Linked DNA regions of Homo sapiens: region 1 is linked to region 2. The links are contacts of gene promoters, found by promoter capture Hi-C in blood cells and fetal thymus (Javierre and others, 2016). All regions are on one chromosome and are shown on one strand. Each heading gives the region's core, a stretch centred on a gene start or on the middle of the fragment in contact. The rest is flanking DNA. Distances are from core to core; before and after follow the strand shown.

Region 1 (3,113 bases), core at 599-3,098, 430 kb before region 2:
TATGGTATATATATATACCACATTTTCTTTATCCAGTCTATCACTGATGGGCATTTGAGTTGATTTCATGTCTTTGCTATTGTGACTAGTACTGCAGTGAACATACATGTGGATGTATTTTTATAATAGAATGATTTTTATTCCTTTGAGTATATACTTAGTAATGGGATTGCTGGGTCAAATGATATTTCTGGTTCCAGGTCTTCATGGAATCACCACATTTTCTTCCACAATGATTGAAGTAATTTACATTCCCACCAGCAGTGTAAAAGCATTCCTGTTTCTCCGCAGCCTCGCCAGCATCTGTTGTTTCTTGACTTTTTAATAATCACCATTCTAACTGGTATGAGAAGGTGTCTCATTGTGGTTTTGATGTGCATTTCTCTAGTGATCAGTGATGTTGAGCTTTTTTCATAGGTTTGTTGGCTGCATGAATGTCTTCTTTTGAGAAGTGTCTGTTCATGTACTTTGCCCACTTTTTAATGGGGTTGGTTTTTTTCTTATAAATGTGTTTAAGTATTTTTGTAAACTCTGGATACTAGACCTTTGCAGATAGATAGACTGCAAAAATTTTCTCCCATTCTGTAGGTTGCCTGTTCACTCTGATGATAGTTTCTTTTGCTGTGCAGAAGCTCTTTAGCTTAATTAGATCCCATTTGTCAATTTTTGCTTTTGTGGCAATTGCTTTTGATGTATTCGTCATGAAATCTTTACCCGTGCCTATGTCCTGAATGGTATTGCCTAGGTTTTCTTCTAGGGTTTTTTATAGTTTTGGGTTTTACATTTAAGTCTTTAATCCATCCTGAGTTAATTTTTGTGTAAGGTGTAAGGAAGCGGTCCAGTTTCAATTTTCTGCATATGTCTAGCCAGTTCTCCCAGCACCATTTATTAAATAGGGAGTCCTTTCCCTGTTGCTTGTTTTTGTTAGGTTTGTCAAAGATCAGATGGTTGTAGATGTGCAGTCTTCTTTCTGAGTTCTCTATTCTGTCCCATTTGTCTCTGTTTCTCATAAACAGTCTTTTTAAGGGAGTTGTAGTTAGTTGTGCTATGGTAAGATTAGACTGCTAACATTTATATATGGGTAAGTCAAGCTTAATACCCCTTCTTTATTACCTTTGTCACAGAGTAGGACTTTGCAGATGCCTCTAGAGCCAATATGTCACATTATTTCCTGTGTTTTACATTCTTATTGTTGTCCAATGTGCCTAACCTGAGAATCCAGGTATTCTCTGCATTTCTTTCTTGTGGACCAAGAAGAGATAAGCATACATTTACGAACACCCACACTTACCGGTCATAGTGCTACGTACCGTCCAGTCTATCATTGCCTTGAATACTCCTGAGGTCCTGTGAGGTTGGATGTAAGGGGCATGCTTAAAGTCACAGCTGGTCTGTGGTACTAGTGTAGTCCTTGATTTCCAAAGCCAGTCTGCTTTACACCAGTGATTTTCCAGTTTCTCCAATCATAAGAGTTTCTTTGGAGGCACTTGATAAAACAATACATATTTCTGGACCCTAGATTTTCACGATAATAGCTTGGGAATCCACACATTTAGCAATACCCTCTCGAGGTTCTTAGGATCATGCATGTTTGAGAAACACCACTTTCTACTTTAACAGGACCAACAATTACAGTGGACTGCAGAGGGGTGGAGGATTAGGAGACATGGATGTGTTTTGAGAGACGCCAAAATAATTTGACGCTAATGGTAACTACACTATCCAATGAAAATATATGGCCCGTTTATCACTTTTTTCAAATTAGAATGAATTTGAGGTTACCTCATATTACAGTGTGCTTCCTCAAGTGAGAGAGAAAATAAGTGGAATCGCTTCCACTGGATATAGAAGAAATTTCCTGTATCCCCCTCTGACTTACAGCCAGCAGTAAGCAACTGTTACTGATGGCAGTGTTAACTGGGGTGGAGCTTGCATATATTATAGTCCTTTACTTCCCTATGAAACCTTGTGAAGTTTCATCAGAACCTTCTGTACACCGATCAGAGAGTGTTTTGTGAGCATGATCCATTTTACATTCTGCAGCAGTAAAATGTTGGATGTTCTTGAACCGTCTGAAGTTGCCTTCAGTTTTCACCTCCGTGATCATTAGGGCTGGTGACGTGAGATGTATCTGTGCTTATCTCTAATTACATTTCAGAGCATGCCAAAATTGTATAAAGGCTTAAAGGAAAGTTTTTCTGGGTCTTTGTGCTTTGTTTTGTATTTGCCGAGATTGAAATGTACAGCGCATTTCCATTTGTTAGGTCTGACAATGCATAACTGATTTGTGGCTTTACTTTGCAACTCACGAGTTACAAGTTAATTAGAAACACTTTTCCCTAATTATATTTGAGAGTTTGCTCTATTTGCTCTACAATTATCACAAAAATTACATTAACTAGTGTTAACGAACACAACATAGCAATCCCCACTGGATCCTGGAGGAGAACACCAAATTATATAACGTCTACATCCCTTGCCCAACACCTGGTTTCCTTTCCAACAGATGTTTTTGTTTGTCATTCCTGATGAAACGTTTGAAATAAACTTCCTTTTTGGTTATCCGTTAGAGGATGAAACTCAGCCTAGAGGAGGAGAAGCTTCAGTTTTGCACATGCAAAACTCTTTTCACTTAGCAACTCGCTCTTCCATCATGACGGCTGTTGTCGTTGCCATCATGGCAGCTGTGTACATCAACTGTGTGCCATCCCCAGGGAATGCCCAGAAGAAGAATCTCTGTGAAGTGGTTTCCTAAAATAGGAGCCTGTATCATGAGGCCTGTAATCCCAGAGAAGTCAGGAAATGGGACTGCTTAGAAGGTGACCTTCTTGTCTTCCTTCTTTCTTCTCCAGTTCACAATAGATGCCTGAGCAGCACTACAAGGTTGCTCAGTCAGGGTAGACAAGAGCATATGGAAATGATGTAGATGTGAGCTCTGTTCTCCAGGAGCAGTCCACTGAGTTAGGGAGAGGGAGATAGAGAACTGTTCTATAAGAAAAGCATGGAGAGAGGGCCAGAGGAGCTTAGAGGAGGAAAGAGAAACTTCAGTTGAAGAGATCAAGGAAGACTTTATGAAGAAAGCAACATTTGAAATGGGTTTTAAAGATGCATAT
Region 2 (3,087 bases), core at 417-2,916:
AGAGGGCGAACTGCCAAGCTGACAGAGTGAGCAGCCAGGGTGGCCAGAGAACTGGAGGGTAAGGCAGTGATGTGGCACCTCCGGAGCAAAGGAGGAGGGGGACGGCCAGCTGCATCAAGTGCTGCTAAGAGCTCAAATAGAATGAAAGTAGAAAATGACCATTGGATCTGGCAGCACATAGGTTATAAGTGACTTCCACAAAAGGACCTCCCATGGTTGAGGGCAGTGCAGCAGAACTTGATGAAAACCAGACAAACTGGACTGGAGGGAGTGACAAGAGATGAGGAGCTCAGCCTCCCTGAACAGTTTTGTTGTCAAAGGGAAAAGTACAGCCAAGCGAGGGGTGGTGTTTCCTTCGCTAAAGAGATTAGGCCTGTCTGAATGCGAATCCAGCAAGGCATTGCGGAAGTTAACAGCAGTTGCAAAACACTGGGGCAGGCGGGAAGAACACGATCCAAGGCACGAGAGCCAGGGGTCAGCCACGGCAACAGGAAGATGATGGTGAAAACCAAAAGTTTCTGAGAGTGGTCTCAATTTAGGAAGTTTATTTTGCCAAGGTTAAGGACGTGCATTGACACAACCTCAGGAGGTTCTGATGACATGTGCCCAGGGTGGCCAGGAAACATCTTGGTTTTATACATTTGAGGGAGACATGAGACATCAATCAATACGTAAGATGTAGGTTGGCTCTTTAGGAGGTAAAATGTGAAGTGGAGGCGTCCGGGTCATAGGTACATTTAAAGGTTTTCTGATTGGCAACTGGTTGAGAGTTATCATCTAAAGACCTGGACTCAGTAGAAGGGAATGTCCGGGTTGCATGAAGGAGTTGTGGAGACCAAGGTGTTATCATGCAGATGAAGCCGGGAATACACTGCAAATGTTTCTTATCAGAGTCCTCTATTAGTCTTAGGGTCTCCGTGCGGATGTTTGTGAGGCCATGTTTGACTTCCGCTTCCCATCAAGGCCTGAACTAGTTTTTCAAGATAACTTAGAAGGCCACAGGCGGAGGGGAGGGTCCATCCGTTGGCTGCAGGGCTTAGAATTTTATTTTTGGTTCATAACGAGGAGGGCAGGGACAGAAGCCACCGTCTCTGCTCCCCAGCGCTGGCCCTCACTCGGAAAGCAGGCTCTCCCCTCGCATCGTCTTTTAACAAATTCCTGCTCTCTCGGCCCCCGTCGCTGCCATCTGGGCTCTCCTTTCCGCGCTTCATTAGGCGCTGCCGCGGCAGGGGCTGAGGGCCTCAGGGGACGGTCGCCTCCCTGCCGGGACGCCCCGGCCCTGGCCCGCACTGTGGGGCGCAGTCACCCAGCCGTCGCCGCGTAGCCAGGAGCCCGGCTGAGCGCGTTCGCTGCAGGAGCCATCCTCAGCTGGGCCCTACTTAACTTTCCGCAACTCCAGTCCCCGCAGCCAGTCGGGGACCCCGCCTCCCTCTCCTTCCTTCTCCCTCTCACTTCTTCACCCCTTCTCTCCCCTCCCTCCTCCGCCCCCGCCCCCGCCCCCGCCCCCGCCCCCGGCCACAGCATCCGACGTGGCGCGGCCGGCTGCGCACGCACCGTATGCTTGGCTCGCGGCCCAGCAGGGCGGGCGGGCCGCGGTGACGTCAGTGCGCATGCCGTCGGTGGGCTCGGCTGCGCCACGTCGGCGCGCGGCGGCCGCGCCCCCTTAACGGCAGTGGCACTCACCCGGCTCGCGCGGCCCCGGCGCCCCACGCGCGCGCGTCGTTCTCCCGCCCGCTCGCTCCCCGGCGCTCACACCTGAGCTCACTCGCGCACGCCCGCCCGGCCCGAGAACCGCGCCGCCGCCTCGGCCCCGCGGAAGCCCCGCCGCGTCATGTCTTCGCCTCCCGAAGGGAAACTAGAGACTAAAGCTGGACACCCGCCCGCCGGTACTGACTCTTTTCCTCTCTCTCCACGCGCGGGTGCCGGGGGCGGGCTCGAACCCGGGGGCGCCGGGCGGGGGCTCCGCGGGGAGGGCCCCGGCGAGCGCTGAGACGGGTTCCGGGCCTTGATGCCCGCCCGAGGGGCGCGGGCCGCGGAGAGGTCGGGCGCCCAGGCCCGGGAGGAGCCCGCCGGAGCTTCGGCCCCGCTTGCCGGCGGCGGCGAAGCGTTTCTTCCTGAGGACCGCGGGCGGCCGCGTACCTGTGCGATTGCGCGCAGGCTCCGGTGCCTTGGGCGAACCCAGTTGCACAACTTATAACAAAGTTTTGGCGGATAATATTTACTTAGAGGATACAGATGTCTAGAAAGAAAGTAGCAGAAGCAATGAAAAGTCAGTGGTGTTAATATCATGGTGATGATTAATTAGAGGCTGCCAGCGTTTCATACCGACTCAAGAACCAAGGAGCGGAAATAATTTTTATCATTAATCACTCAATATGACTTTCACCGCCAGTTTCTTCCACATCCAGATTTTTTTTTTCCCCCAAAGTTGCTTTTTCTGATTTTGAGCAAATCCTAAACTTCTGAGCCAAGGAAGTTAAAGCCAGGAAAGAGCGGTCTTTCTTAGAACATAGGGATCTAAGCAGCCTTCATGCTTCTGCCACCTCCTCCTCTCTCTGGGCACAGTTCCTGTTTGCACTTTGGATTCTGTCCAGACGGGTCTGTTTCCGTTTCTACTCTCCTTTCCAGTGGCAGTCGGCCCATATGGAGGGACACTGGTGAGAAGATCAAAGGCCTTGGGTCTCAGAAGCCAAGTCACTTCAATGTATGGATGCGTGAGGTTCTTTTAGGTCTTAATAGCACGCCTTAGTGTCATAAACTCAGTCTTGTAGGAACAGAAGTCTTTGAGAAACATGGCTTCTTTTGGTGGCACATTTGCGCCATTTTCTTGACAATAAAGATTCCTGGCCAGGCGCGGTGGCTCATGCCTGTAACCCCAGCAGTTTGGGAGGCCAAGGAGGGTGGATCACTTGAGGTCAGGAGTTCAAGACTAGCCTGGATAACATGGTGAAACCCCATCTCTACTAAAAGTAGAAAAATTAGCTGGGCATGGTGGCGGGCGCCTGTAATCCCAGCTATTCAGGAGGCCGAGGCAGGAGAATGGCTTGAACCCGGGAGGCAGAAGTTGTAGTGAGCCAAGATTGAGCC

Evidence for each region. Contacts are between HindIII fragments. The CHiCAGO score rates a contact against its expected background, and 5 or more counts as called.
Region 1: a fragment that was not itself captured here is called in contact with the fragment with the promoter of DAP in region 2 in 1 of 17 cell types (M1 macrophages); the score reaches 7.0 in M1 macrophages.

The regions. Positions count from the first base shown.
Region 1 is chr5:11,185,146-11,188,258 of GRCh38, reverse strand. The region is part of intron 11 of CTNND2 (catenin delta 2); the gene reads left to right. Among named protein-coding and RNA genes, the nearest start is that of CTD-2154B17.1, 400 kb to the right of the region's middle. The HindIII fragment of the contact is 1,509 bases long and covers 1,094-2,602 here.
Region 2 is chr5:10,759,813-10,762,899 of GRCh38, reverse strand. DAP (death associated protein) reads left to right here and starts at 1,666. Exons shown (of 4, transcript NM_004394.3): 1 at 1,666-1,886. The coding sequence starts at 1,832. DAP-DT (DAP divergent transcript) reads right to left here and starts at 1,864. Exons shown (of 3, transcript NR_187555.1): 1 at 1,684-1,864. RefSeq lists silencers at 1,131-1,600, 1,681-2,110 and an enhancer at 763-1,608. The HindIII fragment of the contact is 9,246 bases long and covers 1-3,087 here.